Linked DNA regions of Homo sapiens: region 2 is linked to region 1. The links are contacts of gene promoters, found by promoter capture Hi-C in blood cells and fetal thymus (Javierre and others, 2016). All regions are on one chromosome and are shown on one strand. Each heading gives the region's core, a stretch centred on a gene start or on the middle of the fragment in contact. The rest is flanking DNA. Distances are from core to core; before and after follow the strand shown. Region 1 holds the start of RTKN2 (rhotekin 2). Region 2 overlaps CABCOCO1 (ciliary associated calcium binding coiled-coil 1).

The links. The method cuts DNA at HindIII sites, captures the fragments that hold promoters and counts their contacts. A CHiCAGO score of 5 or more calls a contact.
Region 2: a contact is called between a fragment that was not itself captured here and the fragment with the promoter of RTKN2 in region 1, in 1 of 17 cell types (activated CD4 T cells). The highest score is 5.6, in activated CD4 T cells.

The regions. Positions count from the first base shown.
Region 1 is chr10:62,264,452-62,270,322 of GRCh38, forward strand. RTKN2 (rhotekin 2) reads right to left here and starts at 4,393. Exons shown (of 12, transcript NM_145307.4): 1 at 4,100-4,393. The coding sequence starts at 4,159. The region is part of intron 1 of LINC02621 (long intergenic non-protein coding RNA 2621); the gene reads left to right. RefSeq lists an enhancer at 173-674 and a silencer at 4,145-4,474. The HindIII fragment of the contact is 2,285 bases long and covers 2,194-4,478 here.
Region 2 is chr10:61,742,616-61,748,027 of GRCh38, forward strand. All of the region lies in intron 5 of CABCOCO1 (ciliary associated calcium binding coiled-coil 1), which reads left to right. Among named protein-coding and RNA genes, the nearest start is that of CABCOCO1, 82 kb to the left of the region's middle. The HindIII fragment of the contact is 321 bases long and covers 1,221-1,541 here.

The sequences.
Region 1 (5,871 bases), core at 3,143-5,642:
TTTTTATGACTTACTAGCCCCAAAGTAAATTCTTCTTCAATGTAATTAGCAATTAATTATAAGAATTATCTATGTGACCCATATGTCTATAGAAATAAACTCTGGCAGACTGACTATATTGGGGAGTGCACATAGGGAGCAACCTAAAGCTGGGATGAATAGCTTTACCCCACAACTCAAATATAAACAAATACCATCTGGTGCCACTAAATTCAACTTTAGTTTTAAATGATACAATGAAACAGGCAGTTGAACTAGCACAGTGGTTCTCAAAGCTGGCTGCATATTAGAATCATCTGAGGCAGAGAGGAAGGGCCTTATAGAAGTACCTAAACCTGTGACCTACCCCAAACCAATCAGGCTCTCTGGAGGTGGGGCTTGAGCATTTTTTTTTTTTTTTACAGTTCCTCTGGTGATTCAATGGTCAGCTAGGGTAGAGAAGCACAGCTGGACTATTTGAAATTCCACAGCAATCTTGAAACTTGCAACAACCTTAAAGAACCAGCAGGTGGCTACAGCCACATTAAGGAATCAGTTTGTGTTTCTATCACATAAATGAAGAGTATCTTCTCACCATCACTTATAATGAAGACTCCATAAAACTATAGAAGCTTGGGAAATAGTAGAGAAAGAAAATGTAAAGTCAGGATTAAAAAAAAAATGTACGTGTAAAAAGTTTGAAGATGATGTAAGATTAAAGTACTATTTATTAAGGAAATGAGGTGTATCTAACAGATACTACTATTAAGATTTTTTCCTTTAGAGCAAGGGTCAGAAAACTATGGCCTGGCTGGGACCTGGTTTTGTAAATAAAGTTACACTGGAGCACAGACACACTCATTCATATTGTCTATGGCTCCTTTAAGCTACAAGGGCAGAGTTGAGCAACTTCAACAGAGACTGAGTGGCCTGCAAAGCTGAAAATACTTACTGTTTGCCCCTTTATAGAAATAGTTTACTGACCCATAATCCAGCCAAATTAACATACACAGTAAACTATAATCTTACCTCCCTCGCTGAGGCAGGTCTCAGGCAAATGTCAGTTAAGTGGATCCCAGAAGGCTAACATAAGCAGGATGAATTGTTAAGTGTACATATGGTTTTCAATGTATTCTGAGCTGTTGGTTTTTTTTTTTTTCTTAAGGCTACTGTTTTAGCCAGTTTTGTATTTCCCATGCAACTTCTTTTAGTACACATCTACATTTTACATGCAGAAAAAGCCTCTCTGGTTAAGCAGTGCTAGCTCTAGCAAGGAAGGGTTTATGGAACCAAAACTCTTTAGAGTTGTCTTTAGTTACTAAGGGTATACAATGCATCAGGGGTAAGGGTTCATGTCTAGTGCTATCCCCAGCAAGAATAATGATCATGTAATAAGGGTACCGATTGGGCATTCAATAGTGATGTTTATTAACCTCAAAGAAGATGAGTAGGGAATGGAAAATCATCAGTGTCGCTCCCTCAGCCATAATGGCTTGGCCAGGTAGAGTCAAGGCTGATTAGGACCAAAGACAAAAGCTGGTCTCTCTGTAACCATTCCTTTTAGGATTGTTTGAATGCCAGTCTCCAGGAACAGCAGAGAATGAGGTAAGGCCATCATACTCTTATTTCTTTTCCAATTTTCTGAGTAAGGGCTTGCCTCTAATCAAGTCAAACAGAAGCCTGTGTCACTGTCCTGACGCTATAAGTAGTTAAAGTCAGGCTGATAAAAATATATGGACAAGGCTATGAATGAAATAGGAGCATACCTTAAAAACAGAAATTTAGGTTAAGTAGGAAACAGAAACCTACTAGGTTTTAAGAGCTAGCCTAGCATGAAGGAAGTGCAAAGAAAATGGCTTTATTGTTGGTATTAAAAACTGACTAAAAAAACCTGAAGTTGAACTCCCGGTAAGACAACCGCAGTAATCAAGACAGAAACTATGATTCACCTAATGGATATAGTTAAGCCATGTTAACAAAGACCAAGGTGAAGAAGAAAAGAGTAAATACAGTACGTTCTCATTTTGCTAAAAGAAACTGTGTGGATTTTAAGAATTGTTTATGTACAGAAAAAAGTCTGGAAATTGTTAACAGCGGCCATTCTGGGGAATGGAACTGGAGACCGAATTCTTAAATTCATGTTTCTGTATATGTTGACTTTTCTGCAATGAGATAGTATTACTTTTTGAATTTTATTTTTATTAAGATGCCAAAAGCTTAAACATTTGTAAGAAAAGTAGGGGACTGCCCTAACCACTCAGATGAATAGGACAAAGGATAATAACAACAATAGTCATCTCTGAAGCACATCCTGAGTGCTAGGTGCTGTGATAAGTACTTTAGAGAGGTTCTCCAATTCCAACAGCTGTCTGGGATAGGCGGAATACCCAAGCTACAACGGTGGAAACTGAAACTTAGAAAACAGAGATAACTTATTCAAGGTTGCACAACAAGAAGAGTTTGGTTTGACCTGAATCTGACTCCAAAGCCAATACTCTATGCTGTGAGGAGTCGCAGAGGACTCCAGGGTTTCAGCAGAGGTGTTTGACCAGTGTGTGACCACCTCAAAATCTTTGGCCTTATCTCGATTACGTGGCAGCTTCATTCATGTATCAAAGGAAATACCAAATAAAAATTCAGTGTTAGTCAAGTATAAAATTATCTGACTCTCAATATTCCTGTTAGGTTGCAACCTACTACTATTTTGTGTTTTTTCTTCAAATCCAAACTGAGGAAGTAATTCCACATTTCAATCATTTTGATTTTGTCCTGCCTAAGAAATTAAGTATTGTATCTTCCCACATGTAAATAACCCAGGCTTTATGTATATTTAAACATTTATTTTCATTCCATGCAACTAAACTTCATGATTTTATCCTCTTGTCGCTTCTGTACCATTCCTATTCTTGCAGCCTGCAGCTCAATAAATACACCTGGACAGCTACACCTACACCTATATGATAGGTGCAAGAACATCAATAGAATGGCAATTCACTATAAATCAAGATTTTGTTAGCAATCAGGACAGCCAAAGTACATAACAGGACAGGACTGAAAAAAAGTACATCAAAATCTTTGAAATTTTTGAAAATGCTGGCATAAAACAGCATAAGTATTACTGATAAAGACACTGGACTTCTTTTGCATAATGAATCTTAATGTCTTGCTTTATTTTTCACAGTATTATTGAAAACTAATAATTTTGTGTCTGCTAAGGAAATCCCAGATTTTTAAACAAAGATATCAGGTGCCTCCATATGAATGAAATTGCAAATATTCTACCAATTTTGACCTACAAAACTGGCAATTTCATATGGCTTAACCTATTTCTGAAGTAGGTAAAAGAAGGTAGAGATTAAAATAGAAGTGAAGGTCCAGCTTAAAGACATCAGAGTTTTCTTTTAAGACCCTAAAGTTATGGTTAAGAGTGAAAAGTGGTAACATTTTAATAACTGATGCTGCCAAGAAATAATGTTGGTTTAGTAAAAAGTAAAATAAAAAGGTTTCTAACGCATTTTACATGGCTCAAAAGCAAACATCAAACTTCTATCCAATGTCACGTGTACTCCCTCTTTCCTTTCAAATGATTTGAGAAAGAACCCAGTATCAAACCTTCAACTTTTTCTAAAGTGCAGAGGTTGCTGTTTGCCTCTACTCCGCTCCGAACCCCCTCCCCCCAACCAGTTCTGTGTTGTGTGTAGACATCGCTCCATTACTGTGCTTCCCATTAAATCCGTAATAAGCCAGCTGTCCACTGGCCTCGCTGGGTTTCTTGGGAATCGAGGGGCTCCCATTTCCCCGGCATCACCTACACCTGCAAAAAGACAGGCGTCCAAAGCCTGGGGAGGGCAGCGGACAGGTGCGCCCGCAAACGCGCGCCTGGACCCCGGCACCGCCTTCCCAATCCGGACCTCAGCTGCCTGAGAAACTCGGGGGTTCCGATGTCCAGGCCCTTTAGAGCCCCAAGAGCGCAGTCTCCTAATCCCTCCCTTTGTTTCTGGCCACCGCTGAAATAGAGGAGCGGGGGAGAGGCTTTCCCGACTCCTCCACAAAGCAAATGCGCGAGGAACAGAACCCCGGCTCCCTCACCTTCCGCGGCAGGGTCCCTCCCGCAACTCACCTGCTGGGTGGGAAGCCCCGCCAGGCGGAGCGCAGGACCCCTCAGGCTCGGCCCCTCCATCTCCAACGCGAACTGTCCGGGCCGTCGCCACTCCTTCAAAGGGAAGATTTGAAAAGCCCGCCCCTGGCAGGAGCCGCAGAGGACGCCAACCGCCCGGCCGTACCAAGTCCCAGTCGCAGGGGCCGGGGGCGCAGGAGGAGCCGGGCCGAAGCGCACGCGCAGTGGGCGCGCCTTGCGCTCTGCAGCTCCCGCCGCCGGAAGTTGCCGAGACCCCAGGCTCTAGCGCGGCGGGGCGGGGGAGAGGGCGGCGGTGCCGGACTTAAGTCCCGGACAGGGATGTGGGCGGGCCTGGGACGGGAGTGGGAGGGGCCGCGGGGAAAGCTTCGGCGGCGGAGCGCACCTGTCCCAGCTCAGGTTTCTGGCTGGTGGTTTTCGTGGCACGCCCTTTGCACTGGGAGCTTTCTGCCCGCATCCCACCGAAGGCCTTCCAAAGTGATCGTAGCTGGACAGACTCGAGGCTGCAGTCCCTGTACTCCCAGACAACTCAGGAACCCACAGCGTCACTAAGAGCCCACGGTCTCGTTCCTAAAGAACCAATAACATTACTCTCAAACACAGCGCTCTCTGTTTCCTCTCACCTTTCCCAGCGTTGTCACCAGGGTCACCCAGATATCATGGTTTTATTCATCAGGTTCGTGAGATACTATGTCAGGCATTTCACAAGGTCTTGTCTTTGCCCCCAGTGTTTATAATCCCAGATGTTCCCCGCCAACTACTCTGTCCACTTACTTTGTTTTCTTGCGAAGGATTTCTTTCAGCTCTCTCGCCCTCTCTTTCCCTCTCCAACATCTAAGGTGATAGCAAAATGGGGTACTATTTCTCAAGAGCCTCATTTCTTGCTGCCCTAAAGATTAGCACAAAGACCCATTTTAATTCATGGATTTTGTTAATTATAAAGGGAAACATGGGATTTTTAAAAATCAAAATGAAAGCAGCAAAGATATCACACCCTTGAAAAGTCCTTAAAATTCATTGTCCCTAGTTTATCTTTATTTCCCCCTTGAAAAGGCAAGAGGAAGCCTCTTCTTGAAGAGTCTACCAAATCAACCCTCCAGCCCTCATCGCCTAGAAACCCTTGGGCATTTTTCCTCCATAAATAGGTGCCCATGTTTTTTCATTTGCCTGGGACAGACCCTGTCTGGGTCTGTTGTCCCAATGTTGCACCAATCTTGCACTTATCCCGTAGTGGATATTATGTGGTCATTTTAACTGCAAGACCCTTTTAAAAGCAGTTGGTTTGAGAATGTACTTTAAAAATATAATGGATACCCTTCCTCAAATAGGTAAAATGCCTCTTTAAGACCTTTTGGACTAGGTGATACTAGAAGCTTCCCAGTTGGGAATGATGGTCCCCTTGCATTATGAATGACCCATATCCTTACAACAATAAAATATGTGTTCAAAATTATCAACACGGAGCTCACCTCGTTTTCTACAAACACAGGTCTGAATTTCAGAATCATTATGTGCCCTTTCCTCCAATGCACATCTCTGTCTTATGCTACCACTTTGTGGTATAATTATCTCCTACTCAGTATGAGGCTGCATGAGCCTAGCTGTAGTACCTGACTCAAAAGAAAAACACACCGCGAGCCCATCATCAGACACATAGTACTTACAACACATACAGCTCTCAGTTGCAGATCAAAATACATGTAGAAGCCAGCACTTCATTAAAACAGAGGTGAGTCAACCAGTTTAGAATTGGACAC
Region 2 (5,412 bases), core at 131-2,630, 520 kb before region 1:
GATTATCCCTGTCTTATAGGATTATCACAAAGTAAAAATAAAACAATGTGTGCAAAATGCTTATTACAGTGCCCAGCATACATTAGCACTCAATAAATGGTAGGATGTACTTGCATTTGGTTTTCCTGCCAATACAGACAATATCTATAGCACAGACATCACAAAATCAGTGTACTAGAAAATGTTGAGAGAGAAGTTATTTTTTTCAGCATAAGAACATATCTTAAATAATTTCAGGAGAAGATAATAGGTTTCTGTACTCTTCTAGTCCTGAAAAGGAGGGGGACTAAAAGGCACTGTGAGCAAAAATAGAATGAATTTACCCAATTCTTTACTGCACTATTTAACCTCTGCTTTCTTAATCATATGCACAGCAGGGGAAAGGATGTGCTAAAACAATTCATGTGTCATGAACAAAGCAGCCGCAGATTTTAGCTCAAAAATCACACTAGGAAAACCACCAGTTGCAAGTAAAGTAATAAGGCCAAATTTATTTTTTTCATTGAGTCTTGAGTTACAAGCAACCCTTTAATTACATTAATCAAGCAGGCTTCCTCTCAACAAATGAAGGGAAATATATTGTCCTAACTTTTGCTAAACTTGTTTTTTAAGTTGCTGGATATTACTTGGACATATGGAAAATAAATCCCTTGATTTCTTTTTTATATTTTTCTCCATCTTTCAATGTAGCCATAGCAAAAGACAAACATATACTTACTTCTAGACATGACTTACTCTGTGAAAGATTGTAAATCACATTTTAAATTTAAAACATTTACATTTCAATATTTAAAACATTAGCACTCGACTAAATTTCACTTTAATTTCCCTTTCCATTTTTCTAATTTTTTGCATTTTTATATATGTTTCTAAGAAAATTGACTCTACCAATTGGTTTACTATCAATCAGCCGGTCATTTGTCCCATTTAATGGATGGAAAACCCAAGGCTTGTAGGAGATTAGATGATTTTCCCAGAGGTCTTGTAGTTACAAAATACCAAAGCTGGGGCTGAACCCAGGCCTGTTTGACCCTAGCTTTTCACCAGTGTCACACACATCTTTTGTTCTAGAATGTTCTCCGTATGTATCTGTTCATTTGTATATGCCACTTCCTCTGTCTGTCTGTCTATCTGGTATTTTCCCTCCCTATCCAACCCCATCTGCATGCTAACTCCTATTTCTCCTTTGAGATTCAACTCAAGCACCATCTCTCTTTTTAAGCTTTCTCTGAATCCCTTCTTCTCTTCCCTCCCACCAAAAATCAATTGGCAATCCTTCTTCTATATTTCTAGAACACTCTACATATACTTCTAATAATTGTTTCATTCTTCAAATTATGTTATTCCTACCAAGTGCCCCCACCACCCACACAATAGACTGAGACCTCCTCAAAAGTCAGAGCCTTTGTGTTGTTTGTCTCTGAATCTCCATGACCTAGTACCGTACTTGGCTTGGAGTGCATGTTCAGTGAAGGTGAAAATGATAATATAAATGAGAGTTTATAAAATATAAAGTTCCTTGTTTTCTGAAAAAATATGAAAGCTTTAAGTAATTGCTAAGAGTTTAACTTAACTTTTGACGATACACAGGATTTATAGAAGAGGGCAGGAGGAATGTTAAAATCTAAAACAAGTGATTGGAAATAAATCCTGAATTGAATTGAAATTTCCAAAGTATAACATTATTACAGGAAATGTAAATAACCTTAATTTATATTTCTATCATTGCAGTCATATTTTGAGAATGCAGTGAAATTGTTCATATTTTATAGTGAGGGCTCTAAACGTGTACATTAAACATTTTGTGTTTCCTGGCTTTTAAAAATGATTACTACCCTGTAATTTACACTTTGTTTAAGCAAATGAACAAACATAGCATCATTTTAATCAGGGTCATCAAGCAGCTCAGCAGCAACCCATTTGACCTAATATATCATTAAACTTGTTTGAGCCAGGTGGTAGTTCTCAAATAACCACATACAATCTCAGTTTGTGATGAAATAAAACTAGTCTTCCAGTACATGGCACACCTATGTTGGCTGGCATATCAGCCCTCCTCACACTAGGAGGTGCTAGAGAGTCAGACCTATTGTCCTCAAAAGGAGAGAACATCAGCCCTGGTACTTATTGCCCTACTGTATCATAAATCAGCTTAGGCGCTACCTAAGAAAAATGGCAAACACCATAGAGGTCTAAGTAAGAGAATTAAGTTAAATAACACCAGCAATTCAATAAAATTAAAATAAAATATGGCAAACACTTTGCAAGCAAGGTGAAATGTATGAGTTCGTTTCCAAATGTGCGCTATATTCTGCAGCCCTATATTTCCATTTGCTACTTTTTCCTTGAATTAATGTCTAGTCTTTTGAAAGGATAGCAGCATTTCAGTGCTATTCCTCTGTGTATACAGTCAGTAATGTTTGTCAAGAGCTTTGGAAGGAAAGGACTACATAAATGTCAGTAGTTATTAATACTGGGATTTTTATATCTAGCTATCAAATGTGTTTTTCATAGTCTATGACCAGAGGTCTATTTGTATCCATCTAACTATAAATGTTTTAAGTAAAAATAACCACTGACCAACAACAGTATTTCTTCTGTTCTTCTTTATAATCAAAGTAATATTTATCAGAAGTTAGCAATTACGCTCAAATTCTTCCAGAGCCAAGTTTATTTTGACATGTTTTTATATTCCAGGTCACTTAATACCACTTATTCCTCTGGCTTTGGGTAACTATTATGAGGCTAGTTGACAAGGTTGACAAGGTCCACTTACAAACCCCACTATGGCCTCCCTGTCCTTGCTCTTCTCTTTGTCTGGCCTATCCCTAACAGGTACATTGTTTTGTTGTCAGCTAAAATCAGGGACTCACCCAACAGTTCTCTACCCCTATGGCCCAACTGTAGCCGTTTTTATGTAGTGTTACAAATGAATTGTGCAGGCATTTGTATCCCTGCCTTCTTACTCCACCTTCAGACTGTAACTCTTTTGAGGCAGAAATCCTGCCTATGCCATGTTTTGCACATGGAACGCACACAGATCAGTTGAATTGAACCAAAATCTGAATCTTACGCAAAACACAAGAGACTCTTCTTTTAAACGTGTGATGTGCTGCAGCATAAAGCTTACTGGCAGAGGGTCACAGCATATCCAGCAAGATGGCTTTTCACTTTTTTCTCAAATGTATTTCAACTCCATTTTCTTTGAAAGACCCACAGTGTTCTTTAAAAAGGAGGAGATGTAACAGTTGGGTTGACCTACAACTGGTTCTCTGAGACTAGAGTTCAAATCTTAGTTTGAATTAAAAACCAAGATGGATTTGAAGGACTCTTACCACAAAGCCTATCTGCTAATGCATTTTTTTAAGGATCACACCAATTACCATGTTTGTCATGTACTCATAAGAACCAGAATAGGTCAACATATATTGGCTGAGTTACACAAAGGAGTCTACAAAATATAGGCCTATGCTCTTTCTGGCTCTGGCCAGCAACCTTAGCCCTTCACTTTTATATGCACTAAATTTTACTCTAGTTTTAATAATAATCACAATAAATATATTAATAAAATCATGTTTATATAAGAGGTTCATCTTGTTTAAAATGCACTGAGAATCATGGTGCTTTATAGGACACAATTTATGCTCTCCTTGGTAATTTAAAGGTGATAACTTCATGTGATTCATTGCCACCTAGTTCTGAACTTTAATAATATAATGACTCATTATGATTTTTACATTTCTTAGAGAACCAGCTTGGTAAAAAACTTCGCAGTTGTTTTTACTGGGGTCATCTGAACTATGGTTCCCAGAATGTTTATGAAAAAAACATGCTTATATATTCTGAATGGCTGTAATCTATCATGGCTGGTGCTTGGTCTGCAGATTATGAGTGTACAGTGTCAACCCAGTGAATTAAAGCTTTGTTGTATATCAGCTTGCTACACAATTATTTCCAGTTCATATCATATAAATCATCACTCTTCACACGACAATCAGTAATTTCCATCTTGTGTTCTAAGCATCCATGTTTTGTCTTAATGGCTCTGTCTGATTCTGCACCTAGAATGGTGTGACAGGACTGGTACTAATAGCTTAGAAAATAAATTTCACTGTCACTAGAGCCTATTTAAGGAATATTCTATGTTCTCACTGTTTTTTGTAAAGCTGTTTTGTATATGTTGGAATAATAGGAAATGAATTTAAATAGAAACACTTCTCATGTCTTATCTCTGCAAACAAAAAAAAACCATAATTTACAATAAATTAGCACAGCAGTTGTTAGTGTAGCTCAGCTTTATTTTGCAATTCTCACACCTAAGCTCACAAGATGACACTTTTTCTGATAAGGTAATCTTTATAAGGTAGTTCTGTAGGTGATTAAATCTGACAGATGCTAGTAAGATGGTGAAGTTCAGATATATAACAGCAAACACTTTAAAAAAATCTTGTTAAAATAATAAAATGTCTTATGATCTACCAATAGAAAAATCGATCTGACAAAAGAATAAATTAGTTATAATGTTGTATTTCTGTGTCTAAAACCAAAATGAAATTATTCACCAATAAGTAGATAAATATACCAATTATAACAAAATACACTGCAAGGAAACTGGTATTTTTTAGATAAAGAATTGGTGTGGTAATATTACCTTCCCAGTCATTTCATAGCATTTACACAGCATTGTTGAGCAGAATGAGAATAAAAAGCTTCTAACACAAACAGAAGCTGAAGAAATAGAATGTGTCATTTCATAACATTTTGATAGTCTATCTGTTCTTCAAAACATACCTTGCATACCAGATCTTTCAAAGTTACAACCTTCATCTTTTCCTGGGGCAATGACGATAATCATTTGGTTGGTATTTCCAATGATACTAGCAATCTGAAATATGTTAAGGCTTAATTGTAGATTGTATAATTAGATTAAGCCAATTAATGCTGTGGCTTGGTTTTGCAATGTTCCTTTATTATTTGAATGCTTTTAGCCCTGGTTTCTTGTTTCTAGCAGAATTTCCCAACAGTAGCTCATTGTCCTTGCTTGGTTTTGATTACTTAAACAATGTTAGCTTTGCCAGAGTCGATTGATACTTCGATCTGCTGAAGTGATATGTTGCAGAATGTGCTGTTTTCTGATTTTCTTATCTAAATATTAGTTGCCTAATGTACAGAGTTAATTTATAAATACTGGGAAGTTCCCTGAATCAAGTAAATTAACATACTGGGCCAGATTCACCAGCTTCCTTAGCAAACCCTCACATCAAGGCTGTCTTCATGCAAGTGTGAAAACCAGAACGACCCTTCAAAAGTTTTCCTGGCCAGAATAACTCTCTCATCAGATAATAGGCTATACTCATCCTAATATTCCAGTTTTATCACCACAATCAATTCATTCTACATAACTTCACCTAG